Regions from separate parts of the Homo sapiens genome. Here regions 1, 2 and 3 are each linked to region 4. The links are contacts of gene promoters, found by promoter capture Hi-C in blood cells and fetal thymus (Javierre and others, 2016). All regions are on one chromosome and are shown on one strand. The core of a region is centred on a gene start or on the middle of the fragment in contact, and the rest is flanking DNA. Distances in the headings are between cores, read along the strand shown.

Region 1 (5,567 bases), core at 1,195-3,694, 1.4 Mb before region 4:
TGTCCCCTAGGTTGGAGTGCAGTGGTGCAATCTTGGCCCACTGCAACTTCTGCCTCCCGGGTTCAAGCCTCAGACTCCTGAGTAGTTGGGATTACAGGCGTGCACCACCGTGCCCGGTTAATTTTTGTATTTTTAGGGGAGATGGGGTTTCACCATGTTGGCCAGACTAGTCTCGAACTCCTGACCTCGTGATCCGCCCGCCTCAGGCTCCCAAAGTGCTGGGATTACAGGCATGAGCCAATGTGCCCAGCCCATGCTTTCATTTTCTTGGGTATATACCCCTTAGTGAAATTGCTGGGTCATATGGTAACTCTATATTTAACTTTTTGAGGAACTGCCAGACTGTTTATCACAGTGACTACCGCATTTCACAGTCCCACCAATAGTACATGAAGGCTCCATTTCTTCACATCCTTCTTGACACTTGTTATTTCTCTTTTTTTATGATAGTCATCCTTGTGAGTGTGAAGTAGTATTTCACTGTGGTTTTAATTTACATTTCTCTGACAACTAATGATGTTGAATATCTTTTCATGTGCCCATTGGTCATTTGTATCTAGTTCTTTGGAGAAATGTGTCTTTAAAACCTCTGCCCATTTAACTTCAATTTTTACTTTTTTAATTTTTTATTTTATTTATTTATTTATTTATTTTTTGAGACAGAGTCTTGCTCTGTTACCCAGGCTAGAGTGCAGTGGTGGAATCTCAGCTCACTGCAACATCCACCTCCTGGGTTCAAGCAATCCTTTTGCCTCAGTGTCCCTAGTAGCTGGGACCACAGGTGTGCACCACTATGTCTGGCTAATTTTTGTATTTATCGTAGAGATGTGGACTTGCTTTTTTGCCTAGGCTTGTTTCAAACTCCTGAGCTCAAGGAGTCCTCCGGCTTCAGCCTCCCAAAGTGCTGGGATCACAGGTATGAGCCACTGCTCCTGACCTACCCATTTTTAAAAAATGGGATTATTTGTCTTTTTATTGTTGAGTTGTAGACTCACTGTGGTTTTCATTTGCATTTCTCTGATGGCTAATGATATTAAGCATCTTTACGTGTGTTTAATGACCATTTGTATATTTTCTTTGGAGAAATGTCTATTGAGATCTTTTGCCCATATTTAAATTAGGTCATTTTTCTTGTTATTTTTGCGTTGTAAGTGTTCTTTAAAAATTCTGGGCTGGGTGTGATCGCTCATGCCTTTAATCCCAGCACTTTGGGAGGCCCAGGCCAGTGGATTGCTTGAGCCCAGGAGTTCAAGACCAGCCTGGGCAACGTGGGGAGACCCTGTCTCTACAAAAATACAAAAATTAGCTGGGCATGGTGGTGTGCGCCTGTGGTCCCAGCTACACGGGAGGCTGAGATAAGAGAATTGCATGAACCCAGGAGGTGGAGGTTGCAGTGAGCCGAGATTACACCATTGGATTTCAGCCTGGGTGATGGAGCAAGACCCTTTCTCAAAAAAAAAAAAAAAAAAAAGAAATTCTGTACAAATTTCTTATCAAGTACATGATTTACTAAACTTTCTCTTATTCTTTGGGTTGTCCTTTCACTTTCTTGATGGTGTCCTTTGAAACACATATTTTTAATTTCAATTATGTCCAATTTATTTTTTCTTTTGTTGCTAGTGCTTTTGATGTCATATCAAAGAAATTATTGCCAAATCCAATATCATAAAGATTTACTCCTATATTTTCTTTTGTTATATAGTTGTAGCTCTTAAGTTTAGATTTTTGGTCCATTTAGAGTCAATTTTTGTATGTACTGCAAGGAGGGGATCCAACTTTATTATTTTCACCATTTTTTGTAAAGACTCTTCCAATTGAATTGTGTTGGCATATTTGTCAAAAAGTAATTGGATGTAAATGTGAGAATTTTTATTGTTTATATGTCTGCCTTCCACCAGTACCATGCTGCCTTTATTACAGTAGCTTTGTAGTAAGTTTTGAAATCAGAATTTGTGAGTCCTCTAACTTTGTCTTTTTCTAGATTGGTTATTCTTTGTTTATGGTATTTCCATATGAATTTTTAGGATCAGATTTTATTTCTGCAAAAAAGGTATCTAGGATTTTGGTAGGTAGAATTGCCTTGAATATGCAGAGGAGTGTGGGAAGCATTGCCATATTAACAATATTAAGTCTTCTGCTCCATGACTGTGAGATGTCTTTTGGTTTATTTTTGTCTTAATTTCTTTCAACAATATTTTATTATTTTAAGAGTATAAGTTTGTACTTCTTTTGTTAAATTTATTTCTAAGTATTTTATTCTTTTTTATCCTATTATAAATTGAATTACTTTCTTTATTTCATTTTTTGTTTGTTTATTGCTAGTGTGTAGAATACAACTGATGTTTGTATATTGGCTTTTATCTTGCAATCTTGCTTAACTCGATTACTAGTTCTAAGAGTTTTTTAGTGGATTCCTTAGGACTTTTGATATATAAGACTGGGTCATCTGCAAATTGAGATAGTTTTACTTCTTTCTTTGCAACCTAAATTCATTTTATTTCTTTTTGTACCCTAACTGCACTGGCTAAAACCTCCAGTGTAATGTTGAATTGAAGTGGTTAGAGTGGACATCCTTGTCTCATTCTTTTAAAAAATAATTAGTTAAATTTTTTTTCTTTTGTAAAATATATAGGCGGGGGTCTCACTATGTTGTGCAGTCTGGGCTCCAACTCCTGAGCTTAAGTGGCCCTCCCTTCAGTCTCCCAAAGTGTGGGATTATAGGAATGAGCCTTCGTGCCTGGCCTCTTGTCTTGTTCTTCATTTTAGGGGAAAACATTCAGTTCTTTACTTTTAAGTGTGATCTGGGTTATGATTTTTAATAGATGCCCTTTATTAGGTTGAGAAGTTTCATTTTTTTTTAGCTTTTTAAAAATCGATACATAATAGGTGTACATGTTTTCAGGGTTCATGTGATCATTCCATACATTAATATAATCAGATCAGGGCTGTTGATATACCCATCATCACCTTAAATATTTACCATTTCTCTGTTCTAGGAACATTCCAATTATTCCCTGCTAACTATTTTGAAATGTACAGCCTTTTGATGTTAGCTATAGTCACCGTACTGATCTACTGAACAACAATTCTTATTTCTTCCATCTAAGCGTATGTTTGTACCCACTAATCAACCTCTCTTCATCTCTCCTCCCCCTACCCTTCCCAGCCTCTGGTAACCAGCAGTCTGCTCTCTATCTTCATGAGATCTACTTTGTTAGCTTCCACATCTGAGTCAGAATATGTGATATTTGTCTTTCTGTGCTTGGCTTCTTTCATGTAACATAATGTCCTCCAGTGACATCCATATTGTTGCAAATGACAGGAATTTATTCTTTGCCCAGCTAATTTTTTATGGCTGAATAATATTCCTCTCTCTCTGTCTCGCTCTCTCTCTCTCTCTCTCTCTCTCTCTATATATATATATATATGGATGTTTCAAAAACAACTGCAATGTGACATATATATATATATATATATATATATATATATATATATATATATATATATATACAGGGTCTCAGTCTTTTGCCTAGATTGGAGTGCAGTGGCATGATCATAGCTCATTCCAGCCTGGATGGAACTCCTGCACTCAAGTGATCTTTGCACCTCAGACTCCCAAGTAGCTGGTACTAGGGGTGTGTGCCACCATGCCCGGCTAATTTTTGTATTTTTTGGTAGAGACAGGGTCTTACTCTGTCACCCAGGCTGTTCTTGAACTCGTGGCCTCAAGTGATCCTCCTGCTTGGCCTCCAAAGTGTTGGGATTTATAGGCATGAGCCACTGTGCGTGAACACATTTTCTTTATCCATTCATCCTTTGATGGACACTTGGGTTTATTCCATATTTCCGCTGTTGTCAATAGTGCTGCAGTAACCATGGGAGTGCACATATCTCTTCGTGATTGATTTTCTTCTTTCTTGGATATCTACCCAGCTGTGGAATTGCTGGATCATATGGTATTATTATTATTATTATTATTATTTTTTTTTTTTTGAGATGGAGTCTTGCTCTGTTACCCATGCTGGAGTGCAGTGGCACGATCTCAGCTCACTGCAGCCTCCGCCTCCCGGGTTCAAGCAGTTCTCCTGCCTCAGTCTCCTGAGTAGCCGGGATTACATATATGTGCCACCACACCTGGCTAATTTTTGTATTTTCAGTAGAGACGGGGTTTCACCATGTTGGCCAGGCTGGTCTTGAACTCCTGACTTCAGGTGATCTACTCGCCTTGACCTCCCAAAGTGCTGAGATTACAGGTGTGAGCCACCGTGCCCAGCCTTTAGTGTAACTTTTATTGAAAAAAAATTCCACGTATAAGTGGATCCATGCAGTTCAGAACTTTGTTGTTCAAGGGTCAATGTAACTTTGAACTTGTCTCTCACTTTTAAGACATTAAATAATTTTAAATTCTAATGACAAATTTAATTTTAAGTGTATTGATTTAAGGCATTACATTACAACTTTTGACAATAATAATAGTAAACTGCCAGACATTTCCAAGTTTCATGGCAATATCGTCCTTGAAATTGTATTGAAAAGCAGGGAAAAATAAGTTTAGCTACTATACCGTCTCAGTTACTTGCTTTAAACATTATTTTGCAAAACAGTACTTTTGCAAAACAATTAACATGGTTTATGATGGGCTACAAAAAAAGGACAAATTAACTTCTGAAAATGATTCAACAGAAGCTAGACTTAATAAGGAGGTAATTGAATCACTGCATCAGCCAGATGAAGTATGAAATGTGAGTTTTTTTAGGTATTCTGTGCGATTTAAGGCTTAGCAGAATTAAAGGTAGTGACAAGTAGAAACTATCTGATATATCAATGACTAATAACAATGTTGATAATTTTGATAGGTGATTTTTATTTTGTGTCAAGTACTGTTCTAACATCTTTACATATGGGCCAAGGATTGGATTGTCAAATCAGACTGACATGAAGTGGAGATGTTAATCAATATTAAGCTTTCCTTATAATTTCAAGAATACAAGCAATCAAAAGGCTCAGAAAAAGCAGAGACATGTCTGGGACATTGAGAGAGGCCCCCGGATCCTTTCTTACTGCAATAGACAAAACTCTGTGGCCCAAAGCAGTAGATGAGGTCCTTAATGAAATATATGAGTTATTAGCAGGGAGTGTTACAGGCTGTGAAACATCTCCGTTTTATACCCAGATAGTTGCAAAGCTCATGCCCTGTGCCCAGTGCTCCATGTCCCATAAATCTTGAGATTCTCAGTTTGTTTATCATAGTAATCCTAATTCAGGGGCAGTCTGCTAACAGCTTTTTATGGGTAAATAGTCTTTTTTTAAATTATTAAGCAAACACTGTTAGTATTTTTGCCAGCTATTGGTGTGCTTACAAGGAGGTTTGACCAGATTTTTTACCTTCTTTTTTTTTTTTTTTTTTTTTTTTTGTGAGAGAGCCTCTCACCCAATAGGAGAAAAACACTGCTTTAACTCTTTCTCCCCAACAAATTAACTCATTTAAATTCAATTAATTTTTTTAGCATAAACAAGATAAAATATATCAAGAAGGAATTTAAAACATTGAAACATCAGATCGGTTT
Region 2 (5,417 bases), core at 1,739-4,238, 1.1 Mb before region 4:
ATTTCCAACAACAGAGTTCCTGTTCACTCATTTCTTATGTGTGTGTGAATCCCAATGTAGACTCAAGCTGGATTTCTGTGCATCTAAGAAAGTTACTTCATGCAAGTCTCCCATTAGCCCAACCAACAAAGTTGTGCTGGAAACACTTTCACCCAAATCCCAGGCATCATTGTGGCTAGATGAATGGGTTACCAGGGCTGACTGATAACACATGGTTTGCAGAATGTCATCTAAGGTATTCATTTTGTTAATGTTACAAGGTTTATTAGAGAACCTCTGTGCATCTGCTTAATCTCCAGGGCTTTCACATCAGTTTGGGGGATATAATTGTAACAAGTTCTGTTCATTTTTCTTTGATGAGAGACATGGAGACTTTAACTTCCTAATTGATTTGAAAATTGAAGCCTCAAATACCTTTGGGAAGTAGAAATCATGAAAACCAGAGTAAACCACTTTTCTTTTTTTCTTGATCAAGGGGACATGTGAATTCAGAATTTCTGAAGAATCAAGGTAGAGAGTTTTTTTTTTTTTTTAATAAGACTTGTGGATTGGATTCAAATGAATAAGCATTCATTTCATATAAAGGGAGTAGATATGTCTGTGGCATGAGGATGATGCTCAGAATTGTCTAGTTAGAGACAATTTTGTTTTGTTTTTAAGCTATCTTTACTTTGATATGGGGGAGGGGGCAGTTAAGTACTTTTTAAGGTACTTATGTTCAACACTATGTTCCAATAGTTTTTGGTCAAAACATGAAATGTACCACTGTCATTCTAATATAGCAACATAAATGGAATACTATAAATCTGAAGCCAGTTCTAGAAAGAAAGAGGAGAAAAGGATATTTTTTAAGTCCCATATTTATATGAAGTTCAAAACTGCTTATGGTAGTAGGCAAACAAAATTTCTTTAGTTTATCTATGTGCAGGACCCTTTGAATGGCCAGATGTATTAGTAGCAAATAGTTCAGTATTTGCTATTTGGATGTCTTAGGAAATAGCTTCCAGGTGGGAATCTGTAGAGTTTGGCATTGGGGTGTACAATCTAAAAACTCCTTGTTATTCTAGTTTACCTTTTGTCTTGTATTGACCTGAAGTTCCTAGCTCATTTGATTGGCAAAGGGAGAGATCTGGGATCTGCAGACACCAGGTTCCCCTGTGGACTGTAACCGTCAAGAACACATGTCCTTGCCACAAATCTTTGAGGTACTCATGTAATGGATTTCTGAGTGATAAAATAATACTGCTTAGAAACATTTTCTGAAGGTTTTGAGTCTGTTGTGGAAATACTTACATGAACCACAAAGTACCCTGGCTTTATGCTGTGGTTCATTACCATGAAATTCCATGATGTGGAGTATCACAGGAACCTTACGCTTTGTCTTCTAGTATTTGACAACAGCAGCTCTGCATGAGAAAGCCTAAGCCTCTAAGACAAGCTTGTCCAACATGCGGCCTGCAGACAGTTCGCAGCCTAGATGGCTCTGAATGTGGCCCAACACAAATTTGTAAACTTTCTTAAAATGTGAGGACTTTTTTTTTTTTTTCTCATCAGCTATCTTTAGTGTTAGTGTATTTTATGTGTGGCCCAAGATACTTCTTCAAATGTAGCCCAGGGAAGCCAAAAGATTGGACACCCTTTTTCTAAGATCTAACCCTTCAAATAAGATCTAACCCTTCAAATTGCCAAATTCAAAGTGTATCTAAAAAAGGATTGCCCTTTGCCTGAGAGTTCGCATTTTAAAGCACTCAACATTTTCATTTAGAAATAGTTTCTTTGGACTTTTATAGACATACTCTTTCAAGTTTTTACCTTGGAGACCTCTTCATATAACAATACTTAGAATTTTAAACATGGTTTCACTTTAAGTAATCTCAGCCCAACTCTGTTGAGTGAAATAGATTTGTTTCCTCTCTCAATTGTGTCTGCTGTAATGTAGGATCAGATTATAGGTCAACCCTCAAACCATGGTTATATACTTAAGCCATGGGAAAAACCAACCAACCAACCCCCAAACCTGAGTTACTGAGGCAGTAGGATGCTGTGCTTTGCCATGGTTACCACGGGACTGAATGAAGGGGGATGAACCCAGAAATGAAAACTTAAAAGAAACTGTTTTAATGAAGGGATCTGTCGGGGGGAAGAAGAGGGCTCCCTGCTTCTGGTGAGCAAACACAGCAGCCCTGAGCCTTTACAGCCCTTCGTATTTATTGGGTAGAAAGAGCAGGGAGGAGGAGGTAACGACTGGTCAGCTGCTTGACTGATCACAGGTTCACATTATTGCTAACAGGCTTCAGATGTGTCTATTCACAAGAAACACTTGTGCCTGGGTTGTGACTGCCCTCAGTATTCCTTCTGGACCACAGACTCAGTTTGTCAGTTTGCCAACATCCTGCTTTCATGAGAACAGTTTGCTGTTTACTCATATAGCCTCCAGTGGTATACAGAGCTGATCATGACCCTCACTCTTTTGGCTTGCAACAGTAGGAAGTCATAGTGTCCTCATGAAAACCTACTGGAACTGTTTCCTTCCCTTCTGGGATCTTCTGTTCTTTTTGTCATCCATTCTAATCATTTCTAGGTGTATGTACTATCTCTCCCTTCCATGGGATTAGCAATCCCATCCTAGACATTATTCATAGTAGTGGTAGGATTTTCCAACAGGATGACACTCTTAGGATATTCTCACTTTCTTCTAGAAATGGTAGAAATTTCCCAAACAGTCTTGGGTGGCTGCTTTTCAGAACTGCAGTAGTGATGGGATGTTGGAACAAGGAGCTGGCATAGTAATTCTGAGCATAAATAGGACTGAGGGGAACAGAACTCTCATGTGAACTTCTAGGGAAGTTAAATTCTAGGATGAATTAAATATATTCTTCACTTACAGTTATCCTCTAGTTGGTGCTCATGTGTTTTTAAGAATATGTAACCTCTATTTTTCAAAGAAATGCAACCTGAGAGTATAGAAAATATGTTGATTTAAATTTGATTTTCCAAAGTTCAGACTCTATATTTACACTTGAATAATTGGATGTTAAGAGACTAAAAGGGTTTAGATACATAGGAATATGTATGACAAATGCATAATGATAGCGAAAGTGCTTTCTTTGGTATTCTTGTGTGCCCAAGGTTACCCATAAACCCAATAAAAAAGAAGTGATTTCCTCTACTTGATTTGAAGTAGTCTCTGAATTTCTAAAGACAAAGATTACATTTTATTGATCTCAGAGTTCCCAAAAGAGTCTAGTACAATGGATTAAATATAGTAGCTGTTCCATAAGTTTTTTTGTGTAATTAAGTTCCTGTATAATGAATAATACTTTTATGATTTGAAAGTAGGATAGTACTGATAAAATCTCAAATCCCTTGAGATTTTATTCTGGATTTAGATGGTTCTCAGCCTTATGGTCTGCATAAATAGTAGCCCTTAGCATTGTTCAAGGCATGAGGCCCTGGGTTTAGGGTGTAAGTCAAGTGGACTAGAAATGAGAAAAATTCCCCTTCTTATTTGGTATGTCCTGCTTTTCAAAAATAAGTTAATGATCTTGCCATGCCCTATCATAATTAGTAAGCATGAAATTTAATTTGACATTTCATGTTTGATATGCATAAACTTGCCCCACTATTTTCTATTTCTAGAATGATCTTCCCAACATGCAAATCTGCTCATGTCATTCCCCTGTTTAAAATTCCTCAGTGGCTTCTCGTGAGTTTAAGATATAGATAATATCCTTAGCGCTATTTACAGTGAGTTACACCAACCTTCATCTTTCATTATCCCCAGTCCCCACTTTGTTCTTTAGCCCATCCTGAGGTGGCCACCATTTTTCAGTAGCCATGTTCCCTCCTGCTTCTAGACCTTTGCATAGGAGTGGGGGAGGTTCCTCAATGTGGGGGTAAAATTCCGGGCAGGCTTCTCGTTTCTGTGCTTGAGGCATATTTTGAAGGAAGAAAAAAAGTATTTTGTGACATCTTTCTGAGTGTTCGCCCGAGGCCCTTGCTATCTCCTCCCTCTTAACAAGTTTCATGATTAACAGAGCAGACAAGCAATCTCCCTGCAAGGCCTATGATGGTCCCTTGCTTTTCTCAGAAAAAGCGTGGGAACTTGTAGGTTTCCTTGAATGTTACATGAATCTGCTTGGTTTATTTTGTATTTTTAATTTTTTCTTTCTAGATCACTGGCCCTTCCTCTTACATAGATCAACAGAAGCATCTGTTTTTAGAATGTGAGAGGATGTCATGTTTTCGCTCCTCTTCTACAAGCTCATTAAGTATAAATAACGTATTTAGGTGAAGGACTTTATGCCATTGAGCCTTTTAATAGACTAGTGATCTTAACGTTACACTTCCGATGCCTAAGATATTTAAACCAAATCAGTAAGAGTAGAGAGTCATTTTCATTCAGTTTGGGGACAGGGGCCTATTGAAAACCCCCACCTTGATCGTCCCTTATTCACTTACAGAAAGAAAGAATTAGAATGTAGGCTATAGCCAGTTTAGGGTGCTTTCTGTCACTGTAAGGCCAAGTAGGAGTGAGTTAAAGCTTCCTTTTCCAAGAAATCATCACACTCCTGAGTGAAGAGCCTCACCTTTGCCCTCTCCCTATTTGCTCCCAAACGGGTTTGCCTGAGAGCTTGAGGTTCACTAACACCTCATTGTGAGTGGGAAGAACAGAACAGAATGCCAAGGAGCAGGCAAGGACAGGAGGTCAGCACGCTGACCCGGATTCAAAGGCTTGGGTTTGTTGAACAACTTCACCCAGTCCTGCCAGCCCGCTTTGATGGCCGGCGTTGCACGGTATTGGGGGCTGTGTGCCCTCTGCTGGGCAGAGCAGCACACGCGTCCGCCTCTCAGCGCCTGGCTTAAAGAATTTCAAGCTTTTGCTAACACGGGGGCAGATTTTCCTCTCAGGAGTGATGCTCTACCAGCATAAGACGATGGCCATGGAAATACAGCCTTGAGTTATTTGGGGAAATTTTATGTCAAAGAAACAAATGATAACTTACTTTATGTTTTACTCCAATCAACTTCAGAGCCACCAGTTTCCTTTCATCGTGGAATGGGGCTTTACATTTGCTCTGATGACATTCAGTTCAGTGGCACAATACACCAAAGTGTACGTCTTTATGTTCACAGACACAAATGGACCCACACAAAGAATTACCTAGTAACTCACTCTTTCCACTCAAGATATTCCGTGTTTTTTTGGAGAATACAAGATTTGGCATATTTGTGTGGCTTTCCTTATGTTTAACATAGCTCTTTCTAAAATCAAAGCCTTAAAATCTATTTGGATTTGATTCATTCATTTATTTTTCAGTCACTGAACAGACATGAATGGGCACCGACTATGTACCTGCCATTGTGTAGGGCTGTAGAGAGCAGTCAGAAATGGAGGAGAAAAGAGAATACCTACA
Region 3 (6,143 bases), core at 1,727-4,226, 1.1 Mb before region 4:
ATGAATTGAATGGGGTGGTACATCCGTAAAGGAAAATATACTTTAAAGTATTTAAACTCAAGTAAAGAGCAAAGGTGAGAAAACAGCCTTTGAAATCCTGTCATAAGGCAATATAAAAGTCAGAATCTTCATTGTTAATTTCAAGTGATTGAAGTTTTTTCTTGAGTATAGAGGGAGATAGATTTTTCAATTTTTTTTTTCAATTTTAGAAACTCTTCTTTCCTGTATGGATTGATCTTTCCTTGGCTTTTCTAATGAATACTTTTAGTGTTATACCTTTATCCTAAAGTGATCATTGAAAATCACATATCCTTTCCGTTGGTAGTTTAAATATGTCTTCCCTGGAATTGTATGATGATATTTAGTGTCATTGAGTCAATTATTTTACCTTCACATCCAGACAATTACATTTAAAATGAATTCTTAAACATTCAGAATTGAAAAGAAGGTTTCCACATTAAACCAATGGCTCTTTTGGCATCTACTACATGCCTTAATTTTTACCACATATGCATAAATTGGCAAAGTATCTTATGGGTTATAATAATCCTGATGGCTTGGAATTAATATATTGCCATCATAGAGCAAGTCCTGAGCCCATCTACTCTGAATCTTTGGATAAAGACAAAACTCCATCCTGCCATGCACCTGGTCAGTTGTGCAATGCTGACCAATACACAGCTGCTAACAATAAGGGTATTGTGCTTATGTAACCCAGTTCAGGATCTGATGGTTAGTCTCTCGATACATGCTGAAACACGAGGGAATTTTTACTTGCCAGGATGCCTGCTTCATGGAAAATATTGTGTCTATGTTGAAGCATACACTTACATCTCTCTATATAAGTTGGTGGAGTTGAATTCTACCAGATTACCTTAGCTTTCCAAGTCAGTTCAGGGTTAAGGCTCTCTCAGTCAAGAAAAGGTCATACAGTGTGGCGTCGAATGTAATTTTAGGAATTGTTTTTTGAGCACTTGTTTTATCAAGTTAACAAAAGTCTGTATTATGTTTCTTCTCATTGATGTGGGTGTGTCCTTGTGTGTGTATTATTCGAGAGAGGCTTCCATTTGTTGAGTGATCTTCATGCAAACATCTTGGAGTGCTTTACAAAAGAATTTTAAAAATCAAACCAAACAGGATATGAAACTGTGCTGCCAAACAAGTAAGTCTTTAGGCATGATTTAAATTTAGTTAATGACATAAAGAGCTAAATCTGTGAAAGGAAGAAAGTTCCTTGGATCAGAAAAAAAGCAGAAAACAGATACTCATATTTTGTCTAAGTCTTCATTTGAGTAGCTCCAAAAATGTTCTTTTAGAAGTGAAGTTGGAAAATCCCAGGCTAAGTGAACTCCAAGGAGCAGTGTTTTAGGGGAAAAGACCAGATAATAGTTCCCATGTGCATAGTGATCTACAGATTGCAAAGTGTTTTCCCAGCCATTATCTCATTTGACCATCACAACACTCCATCAAAGTAATTAAGGACAGTGTTACCCCAGTTTACAGATGAATAAACTGATGACAGGAGAAACTAAGGAATTAAATGAGGTGATAGAGCTAGATGGTGATAGAGCTGGGATTGGCATATGGATATTGTTCCAAATCCCATGTTGTATATACAGTAACATAAGGCTCCACTGTGGCGAACTATTTACACTGGATACTTTTCTCCTGCCATTATAGCTGCCTTGGGAGTGATAGTAATGACTCTGACTTCCCAGGGTATCTTAACATTCTGCTTCCTCTCAGGAGGATCTCCTGACATTCTTGTGTAAATGGAAAAGTAGAAAACCAGGATCTTCTAAGGCAAGTGCATTGTAAATGATAATTTCATGCCTTAATCTTTTCAAAACATTTAAACTGGCTTTGATGATTCACCTTTAAACTCACCCTTCAATAGTTCTCAGAATCCTCCTTGAGAAGATGAAATTGGAATGATCCCATCAGCTCTGGCAGTTGTAGGTGGATTCTAATGGTAAGGGACTGTAGTGGGGAAAATGGGGAATTCTTAATGAGCTCCCTTTCTATTGCTGACTTGAACCAAATGTAGTTATCCTTGAACGTTTGAGGATTCTATAAGCATTGTGGTTTCAGACAGTGAGTCATAACCTTGTGCCAGAGGGGTGGGTGATATAGTATCTGGATTGATTCATGAGACATATAGTGGCTTTTTAAGGTATATTCTGAAATGAGTCTTCCAGCAGTCAGGTTTCGTTGTTGTCGTCTTTGTTTTGCCTTCTTCTCTGAAAACACAATTATTTTCTCATTCAAGGTTTGGACTTTAAAAGCTTACTTTTTCCTTGAGACACCTTTAGCTTGAGACAAATCTAGGAAGAACATCGTTTTGTGATTCTGTAGATCTTTTGACAAAGTGGATCCTCCTGCTTCAGCCTCCCTGACAATTACTTTATTTTTTGTAGAGGCGAGATCTTGATATGTTTCCCTGGCTGGTGTTGAACTCTTAGGCTCAACCCATCTTACCCCACTTGGCCTCCTAAAGTGTTGGGATTTCAGGCGTGAGCCACCACACATGCCTCTAAACTTTTTTGTTTTGTTTTTTGAGACGGGATCTCACTCTGGCACCCCGGCTAGAGTGTATTGGTGTGATTATATCTCACTGTGGTCCCGACCTCCCAGGTTCTGGTGATTCTCTTACCTCAGCCTCTCAAGTACCTGGGATTACAGGTGTGCACCACCACACCTGGCTGATTTTTGTATTTTTTGTAGAGATGAGGGTTTTGTCACGTTGCCCAGGCTGGTCTTGAACTCCTGGGCTCAAGCAATCCATCTGTCTTGGCCTCCAATGTGCTAGGGTTACAGGTGAGAGCCACTGTGCCTGGCCAACTTCTAAATTTCAATGACTTATTATTTTTTTTCTTTTACCTGCCAGACCTTGGTAATCATTTCTTCTTTTAAATTTTTTTAATATAATTGTCCAGGTGGTTCAAGATCCCCTAAAAGATGCTGTATCATTGCTTAAGGTAGAATGTCTTGCACAGAATAGGAGCTCAGTCGATGTCTGCTAATTATTAGTTTTTCCTGTTCTATATAGAATTATATAGTTTTAAGTGTTAGGCAATGTTTTTAACTTAGAACTTAAAATGGAAATCACTATGATGATTAAAATATTCTATATCCTCATTGCCCAATATGGCAGCCACTAGCCGTTTTGCTTGAGCACTTGAAGTGTGGCTTCTGTGACTGAGGAACTGGATTTAAATTTTATTTAACTGTAATTAATTTAAATGTATAAAGCCACATGTAAGTAGTGGCTGCCAGACTGGATGATGCATGCTCTAAGAATGTGCAGAATGGCAATCTAAATGTGAACTGTGAGTTAGAGAAGTCCTCCTGGAGGAAGAGGAACTTGGGTCTTGCAGAAGGGAAGCAGAGAGAAGGGGTGAGGTGTTTTAAGTAAGGAATATAGTAAAAGCTCTGAGGTGATTGACAGTGTTAAATTTGGGATTAGTTTCAAGACTGGAAGTAGAGCAGAGTTTGAGCACTAGGGACAGTAGTAATAATAACAGCAGACACTTACCAATTTACAGGCCACATACTAGTTTAATCTTCACAACAATACTCTAACTCGAAGAATATAAGTAATTTGCTCAAAGGTACAAGTTGATATTGGACCTGAGATTGGAACTCATATCTGTCTAGCTCAAAAACCTAAGCTTTTAACCACAATACTGTGCTGCCTTATGATCTGCCATGTTTAGAAAGACTTACAAGTAGGAAATAGCCTAAATGTCTTTTAACTGGTAAATGAGTAAACAAATAATGGAATACATCCAATCAATGGAATACCACTTACAAATTTGAAAAGTAACAGAACTACAGATATATGTAACAACATGGATGAATCACAAATGTATTATGCTAAGTGAAAGAAGCCAGAGGTGAAGAGCTATATACTGTATATTCCATTTGTATGACGTTCTAGAAATGGCAAAATTATAGAGACAGAAAACAGGCTCAGGAGTTGCCAGGAGCTGGCAGTGAAAGGCAGGGATTAACTATAAAGAGACACAACAGATTTTTTGGGGGACATGATGAAAATAGTGTGTATCTTGATGGTAGTAGTGGTTACATGACTATACATTTGTCAAAACTCAGAGAACTGTGAACAAAAAGGGGTGAATTTTACTGTATATAAATTGCACATCAGTAAAGTTGAATGATAAACAAAGACAGACTTACAAGTAGATCCAAGTTTATTTTCTCAATATGTTAAGTTATTGTAACCAGGCTATTTTGAAAAATAAATAATTCTAAAATTCTTGTGTCTAAACATGTCTTCATATTTATGATAGATATATAAATATATACAACACATATAATAGAAAAATGATGTAGAAATTAAAAATTCATAAAAGTGATGTGTGTGTGTACCTAAAGCAGTTAAATTTGCATTTAACATGAGTTGACACATTAAATGTTTATTCAATTTAGTGTTTATTTGTCATTGCCATGGCAAAGCAGTTGGAGGTGAAAGAGGAAGTGATGTTTTAATTAACATGATTGGTAAGATGTCATATGACTTATCCCATTTTCCTTTTATTGTGTTTAAATGAAAATAGCTACCATATGAAATCATCAATCCTTTTAAAGCTTGCTTTAAAATTTTTCAATACATAATGGAATTTTCATTTTCACTCATATTTCACTTATATAAATCACTTGTATGAGACAACAGTAAAATGGATATCTTTTAAACAGATATATTTATATCCTCCTTTTATATTTCTTTTTCTTCTTTCTTTCTGTTTTTTTTTTTTTTTTCCAGACAGAGTCTCACTCTGCCGCCTAAACTGGAGTGCAGTGGTGCAATCACAGCTCATGGCAACCTCCGCCTCCCAGGCTCAGGCGATTCTCCTGCCTCAGCCTTCTGAGTAGCTGGAATTACAGGCGTGTGCCACCATGCCCGGCTAATTTTTGTATTTTTAGTAGAGACAGGGTTTCACCAATTGGCCAGGCTGGTCTCAAACTCCTGACCTCAAGTGATCTGCCCGCCTCGGCCTCCCAAAGTGCTGAGATTACAGGTGTGAGTCACTGCGCCCAGCCCTCCTTTTGTATTTCTAAGAAAATTCTCTTTTTTTTTTTTTAATTATACTTTTAAGTTTTAGGGTACATGTGCACATTGTGCAGGTTAGTTACATATGTATACATGTGCCATGCTGGTGCGCTGCATGCGAAATAAACTTCCTGAAGGTCTTATATCACTCTGTGTTCACTAGTTTTGTTATGTATTCATAAAACTATAGATTAGTATAATTTTTAGGCAGAGAGGACCTCAAAGTATTAACTCTCCTGGTCCATTATCTACAGGAGGTAAGGGGTTATCTGTGTTTTATAATTGAAGAGGTGACATACAGAATTCTAACTTTCCCATGGTCACATTTCTAACGATTAGAGTTTTAGGTTTCAAGAGTGATTAATCTTAATAAAGAACTATAAACAATATTAATTAATGATTATGATTTAAGCATTTCATTTGATTCTTTGCTTTAAGCATTTCTCTAGGTTCAAGGTTTAATACCATCATATTTAATAATACTGCAATAATCCTGGTTAATCTTAAAATAGTGTCACTAGGGAACATGTAAATTACAGGATATGTTATTCTTTGAATGAATTTCATCTACTATTGTGGAATTTGAGGTAATGAATCTGAAAACAGTTTGAAGGCTATAAAGCACTTAACAAATGTTATTTTTTTCTTCTTTGTTTTTATCTGTCATTTGCTTGCCATTTTCCTTAGAATCTGGAGTAATATGCATACATTTGCAGAGAAAACTCATATCTGATATTTTTGCTTGCTAGGAAATAATTCTGTTTTGTACAAATAAATATATAATTATACATCAACATGTAGCACATTTTCAAAGTATGATCTAATTAAAATAATCTAAATAAAATTTTTTCTAAACTGATACAAAACCAGTAATTGGTGTCATAGCAGCTTGTCACTCTGTTTAGTAATCTTGTAGTATTGTTTAAATATGTACATATATGTGTGTGTGTGTGTGTGCTTGTGTGTGTATCCTTAAGACTGTGAGCCAAGACAATATTTTCTTATGTACCTCCTTTTTCTTCTTATAATTCCACTTTAAAATATTATCTTTATCTATTTTCTGCTACTTTAA
Region 4 (6,086 bases), core at 731-3,230:
ATGTCAAATAGCAATCGCTGCTAATGGACAGGAAATCCCCACATTGTCAGGGCAGTTGAATTTAGCAACCACTCAGTTCCAGCCTAACTCTAAAATTAGAAAGTCACCTATTTCCTTCTCTTTTCCTAAGCAACTGTATGTTTAATGACACAGCAACAATTACTATGAAAGCAGGTATCCAAACTAAAATTTTTTGATTAATCAAATATTTTCCCTCACTTCCATTTTTCCCACTTGGTGGCATATAGAAACATATCCTCTTTTCCATGACCGTGGACCTCCTTACAACTGTCTGCTGTACATGTATCCCATGCACAAATCTGGGAACAATCTTCAAGAAGTTCATCTTAGAACTTGCAACTCCCTGGGAGGATCTCCCTGCCTGGATTTCTATAGTTAACGGAAATCCAGCCATACTTATCACTCGAGGCCCTGAGATGTTTACGGTACTATAAATTTTAGGCACAGTTTCAAGTTCTCTGCAGCAGAAGGCAGGCTTTTCTGTGCATTGCGTACTGTGGATTCTGTTCTTAATTTAACACACTCTGCACACTGTGATTATGATAGTGGTAAATTCACTGAGGCAAGGGCCAAGCAGGGCTGCAGATGGATAGGAAAGGTTCTCTGGCATCTTTCTATAAACTTACGAGGATGCTGGCCATGATGATGGTGGCGGTGGTAAGGGGAGTTCCTCTGACTCCGACCTCATGTCTTTGGCAGGAGTTGAAATGAATAATAAAGCTGGGTTTATGATTAGATAGAATACCAGAGCAGAGAGAGCAGTTAGAGGGAGAAGCTGTCTTATTTTAGGAAGCATGATGACTTATTTTTTCAAAATCTGAATTCGATATTCCCCTTTGCTAAGAATTGGTGTGGGTTTTGTTGTTGTTGTTTGTTTCTTAACAAAATAAAAGAGAAGAAGATTCCCATAAGCAGAGCTTAATCATTTAAATCTAAAAAGGCAATCAGCAGTTGATTTTAGGGTGGCAGGGTCCTGCCAAGGCCTTAGGAGAAGGCCGAGGGAAACCTCCCAAGCCTTGGATAACTAGCCTGGAGGGTGTGCAGGTTTCCTCCAGCTTGGGCACATCTGCCTTGCCCCATAGAGAATGTTAACAAGATACCTGCTGTTTTCCCTTCTGCCTCTATGCAGGACAGCTTCTGAAATCCTAAACTGCACAGGGTGTCACTCCAAAAACAGACAGATAGTAGCTGCTAAATTAGAGAACCCAGAGGGCACAAGGTTGGGTTTTGTTTTTCTAGGAAAGAGTGTAAAACTGGAGTGTCTGACTAGTGCCCCGGATAGGGAGGCTTAATAGGTTTGGGGTAACTCATCCCCATGAGCTCTGCTCTACTCTCATCCACACCTGCCAGAAGGGGTCAGGGTGAAGCCGATGGACAGCAGTGCTGACCCGCATGCAGTGGACTTTCCATGAATAACACCCAAGGCTGACTACAGATGTTTAGGTGGGGGTGCCGAGGGAGGGTTACTTGGCTGACTAGAATTAGGGACAGCCGTGTGCAAATTGCTTTTTTAGGGCCAGAGAGGCTGAGGCTGCTGGCTTCCAGTCACACAGCCTACAGGACAGCCCCTGATTTCACAAGAGCAGGTTTCTGATGCATGATCTAGCCCCACCCCTTCTTCACAGGCAGCTGTACTTGGAAGCAAATGATTTAGTGTTCCTGAGAGAGGATTGTACAAAGAGAGTACTCATTAGAGGGGGCTCAATCTGTCAGGTGCTGTTATATTAGGATCAGAGAGTCATCATAAAATGACTTTCATGCTGGTCTTGGCTGATAATTAACTGCATGGCATCGCCTGCGTATTGTAGAGAGGCAAGGGTGCTGATTTATGCATCCGTTTAATTATCTGAATTGAAAGACTCTGTTCCCTGTATTTGCATCCACTGCCTGCGTGCTTTCTCTCTCCCCCATATTTCTGACATTTGGATTTTCCCCCTACTAATTGACATGCCTGTCGCCTCCTTCTCCTGGTGTCCATTTCTGGAACTGCTATTTGTATATTGCATGATATTTTATCAGGAAAAAATATAAAACAGATCTAATTTCATGAAAATGCTGTTGCCATAATGCTCAGGAGAACAGGGGGAAGAGAGAGATTCAAGTCTTCCTAATGTCTACCTTATATGCAGGTACATTTTACAAGTTCTATTGTATTCTGACTTATTAAGCAGTGCATATTTCTTTCTTTTACATTAGCTTTCATTGCAGAAGGGTGTGGGGAGATGAGACTGCTGGAAACTGACGTGGGATTGATGTTTATCAGGGCTGTAGGCTTCAGAAATATATTAAGCCTCGGAATGTCCTAGGTATGAAAAAGATAATAAATAACAGGTCAATTTATTATATTCCCTTTATCTCTATATTACCTGAGAGAGATTGCTATACTGCAGTGACACTTTCAAGATGCCCCAATCCTCCAATCTCCATGCATAACAATTTGAAAAAGGGAAGGTTGACTAAGGCTGGGATGTTCAGGATCAATTTCTAATCAGTTTCAGGTTTTACTCAAATATCTCATGCTGTAAACTCTTGAAATGAATGTCTTCCCATAGTGCGCCGTGAGCAGGTTCTGCATTAGTTTGTACAGGTGCGACCTAGGTTCCTGCACTATTACCTAGCTAACCAGATATAGCTGGTTGCTTTGCGAACCTTTCATTACCTGCTCTCTAATAATATTCTTTTCATCCTCTGTGCTATTTTTTCCCTCCCGAGGCTTGTGAGCAAGGCTGTATCACAGCCTGCTCTGCCTGAGTAATTCACTAAGAAAGTCCCACGCAAACCCATGTGGGTGATAATATTTCATCACTTAAACCTCTATGAGCTTGGTGGACACATACCAAAGAGAGAGAAAAAGAGGTGCAGAAAAATGGGCAAAGAGAAATTTTGTACCTCACAGGGAATACCTCTGAAATGCTGCTGGGTGGGAAGGATTGGACAGAGGAGAGACTGTGTAAGCTGGAAGGAAAGATAGCTGGAAGGGTGTTTGCAGCACATTTTCCTTTGCTTTCAGAATTTTAAAAATGTTTTGAATAAGTCAATCATGAAGGCATGGCAAGGGTTAAGCAACTAAGCCCCTTGTTGTTCCCTCCCCCTACACTAAGATGCAAAATGCTGGACTCATCCAAAAGTCCAGCATCTCAGATTTGTGGGTCTATGAACATTTTCAGTTAAATAAGCAACACACACATGCAGTGTTTCGATTTGGTTTTGTTTTCCTCACCAGGGTCCTGCTTAAAATATGTTGCTCTTTTACATATGGGCAATAGTTATGTCTCTAATGTGAATGTGGAAAGCCTCGTTGTTTATAGAACACATTTAAACTTACCATGGGATGGGGGCTGGGGGAAGCCTCCCTGTAAAAAGCGTCTGTTCCTTTAATTTTCCATTCTTCATCAAGATTTCACTGTGCCTAGATATGGTATAGTCAATGGTAAGGGTATACACAACTACCATTTACAGGGTGCATTCTCTGAAGCCCTAACTTTGCATTTGGACTGCTTCCAGGGGTTTCTGCAGAAAGCAGCAAGTGAGGTCTTAAGGTTATTCCTCCTTTGACCTACAGTAGAGGATCTTTCCTGCAGTAGAACTATAGGTTTGGCCATAAATTATCTTGATTAATTTTTTAGCTTTAATTTCCCTCCTTAGGGTCCATTATTGATTTATAAATGCCCTGGCACAAACGTCCATCATCCATGCCTCTTCCATTAAAGTGGTGATGAAAAAGGTTAAATATTTTGGGAGAAAGGGGTTTTAGGTTCCTACAAGTAGCAAAAATTCTTAAGGTTTAACCCACAAAATTTCAGAGACTTCTTCCAAAGTTCCTGAGAACTTTGGCACTTCTCATTTTGGACTTAGGAACCAGTCGAGTACGAAGAATTCAGAACTACAGCTAGGAGATCACGTGCAAGTATTTTTTAGCAGAAGAGGGGCCAAGACAAATATGTGTTTTCAAGAAAAGTGCCTGGGAAGGTATTACTGCAGTTCTTTAAATATTACAACGGACTTTCCACCCTGGCATCTCCACCACCCCCAGCCCAGTCCATCCACTGCACAGGCCGCAGACCACTATTAATCTCTTTTCCCATCTTTCCCACCATTTCTCTCCACACCCTCAGTTCGGAAACAAACGCATCCTCAGAAGCCGAACACCATGTTCCCACAAGGCATTACAGAAAGAACCTTTTTCCTCCCTGTTTGAAGTCACTTGTCATTTGTCGCTGGTGGAAACTGTTGATAAGGCAGGAAAACTAGGCAACAAAATCAGGGGAGATGGAAGATGTTTTTGTTACGACCCGGGAGACCGTATTAGGGAGAGACTTGTGAGCAAATCAGTATCGCTGATGATTCATAGTCACATTTCTCCCTGCTCCGCTTTGTTTGCTTTTGAAATTTATCACTCGTCTGCCTTCCATAGAGCTCCGGAATGTTCACATGTATCACTAGAATTTCCATTTCCTTTCCTTCTGTCTCATTTAATGTATTACAGGTAGTCATGCTTCTCCCATCTCATAAATTCCTAACTTTTTCTGCAGGATGAGAGGGAGCAGGCGGTAACTGATAATCACCAAGATTAGGGCGCTACAGACAGGGGCTTCCAGTACGCGCAACTGCCTTTCCCTGGATACACTGACAAGGAGCAAAAGTCTTTGGAACGCGCCCTCTTGTGGCCGCTCTTCCCCATTATTCACGGAAGAGAGCGTGTAACCCCTAAAGGCATCCCTAAAGGAGGGGTGATTCACAGAAAAGTTCGGAAGGTGGGATTGGAATGGTGGGAGTCAGCTTCATTTTGAGATGGCTTTCTTGGGGTGGGGAAAATGGTCATCCAAGCAAAGCTTCTTGGATCCCTGTCTGGGCAGTGCAAACTTCTAACTCAAATCTTCCATACATAGTATCCTCCAAGGGGTAGACTTATGTGTTGCGCTTAACAACACCTAGGCTACGTGAGCACATCCATTTCTTGGTGTGTCATTTGTCTTTCTTTCCCTATTCTTTCTACAACAAGTGCTATCAATTGCTAAGCTAATTACCAGAACCCACATCCAGGTTTGACAGCATATGGAGACTTAGAGGTACATTATTATTATGCATTGATTGACCACCTACTGTCATGAGTCAAAATAAAATAAAAATAAGCTGCATCAGCTGAAAAGGCCACTGAATTTAGCTTCATGACATTTATAGTGATAGCTTGGCTTTACCCATCCCTTCTATCTTTCCTTGTGAAGAACTCTGTAGGCCTTAAGGTAAAACATTGAGGGTTTTGTGCCAGCCATGCAAAGAACACACTAACCTTGGTGAGAAATCTTGGGTGATGTGACATATATAAAAATAAAATAATTTTTGTTTGTTGGGATACATTTCAGAGAGCCTTAGAGTGATTCCCTGCTGTTTAGTCAATAACAACTCGCATCAACTTTACAAAAATTGAGCACTTTCTACCTAAACAGGATGGGACAAACTCAGTTAAAAGAGTCCTCAGCACTTCAGCTTTTGGAGGCTCTCTACTTCTGTAGCCAGGCCTTGGCTTTATCCAACAATCAAGGAGAGAAAAGGCAAAAATTAAACGTAGCCTCAAATTGAAGAATCTTGAGGTTGAAAGGGGCTGCTATGGGTCTGCATCTGTGGCATGCTCATGGGTGACAATGTCTGGATTCTATGCTGCACAAAATGGTTATAAGGGAAAGAAAAATGCATTCCTTTTTCTATTCTCCAAAAACTCTTGACATTCCACATAGTTGGAATGTTATTAAAGTTGAATTATTCCAAAAGCAACAAGACATAGGTCTTTTCTATTCATGTTCATATATTTGCTACAATCATTTGGATGATAAATGTCTTTTCTGGACTAGCAAAATCAGCAGCAAAATGCTCACGTGGTTTTCTGCTTGAAGAGTAGACAGTCCATACAGCAATCATTAAATACATGAAATTACATTAAATCAACTTGAAGTTGATGTGTGAAATCCCTCAGAGAAAAATAAGCAATTGTAATAAGTGTTTTCTAAGAATCCAAAGTCAAGTTGTAAAGTCAACCAGGAGTTTCCCATTACAAATCTTAAACTTGA

Evidence for each region. The method cuts DNA at HindIII sites, captures the fragments that hold promoters and counts their contacts. A CHiCAGO score of 5 or more calls a contact.
Region 1: a contact is called between a fragment that was not itself captured here and the fragment with the promoter of INHBA-AS1 in region 4, in 2 of 17 cell types (monocytes and neutrophils). The highest score is 5.9, in monocytes.
Region 2: a contact is called between a fragment that was not itself captured here and the fragment with the promoter of INHBA-AS1 in region 4, in 2 of 17 cell types (monocytes and erythroblasts). The highest score is 5.3, in monocytes.
Region 3: a fragment that was not itself captured here is called in contact with the fragment with the promoter of INHBA-AS1 in region 4 in 1 of 17 cell types (monocytes); the score reaches 6.2 in monocytes.

What each region holds. Positions count from the first base shown.
Region 1 is chr7:40,268,685-40,274,251 of GRCh38, forward strand. The region is part of intron 7 of SUGCT (succinyl-CoA:glutarate-CoA transferase); the gene reads left to right. The region is part of intron 2 of LOC105375245 (a long non-coding RNA gene); the gene reads right to left. Among named protein-coding and RNA genes, the nearest start is that of SUGCT, 140 kb to the left of the region's middle. The HindIII fragment of the contact is 5,035 bases long and covers 1-4,962 here.
Region 2 is chr7:40,600,207-40,605,623 of GRCh38, forward strand. The region is part of intron 12 of SUGCT (succinyl-CoA:glutarate-CoA transferase); the gene reads left to right. Among named protein-coding and RNA genes, the nearest start is that of SUGCT-AS1, 56 kb to the left of the region's middle. The HindIII fragment of the contact is 3,105 bases long and covers 1,437-4,541 here.
Region 3 is chr7:40,583,141-40,589,283 of GRCh38, forward strand. The region is part of intron 12 of SUGCT (succinyl-CoA:glutarate-CoA transferase); the gene reads left to right. All of the region lies in intron 3 of LOC105375244 (a long non-coding RNA gene), which reads right to left. Among named protein-coding and RNA genes, the nearest start is that of SUGCT-AS1, 39 kb to the left of the region's middle. The HindIII fragment of the contact is 1,386 bases long and covers 2,284-3,669 here.
Region 4 is chr7:41,691,939-41,698,024 of GRCh38, forward strand. It overlaps INHBA-AS1 (INHBA antisense RNA 1), which reads left to right and starts at 1,981. Exons shown (of 4, transcript NR_027118.2): 1 at 1,981-2,150. The region is part of intron 2 of INHBA (inhibin subunit beta A); the gene reads right to left. The HindIII fragment of the contact is 8,944 bases long and covers 1-4,851 here.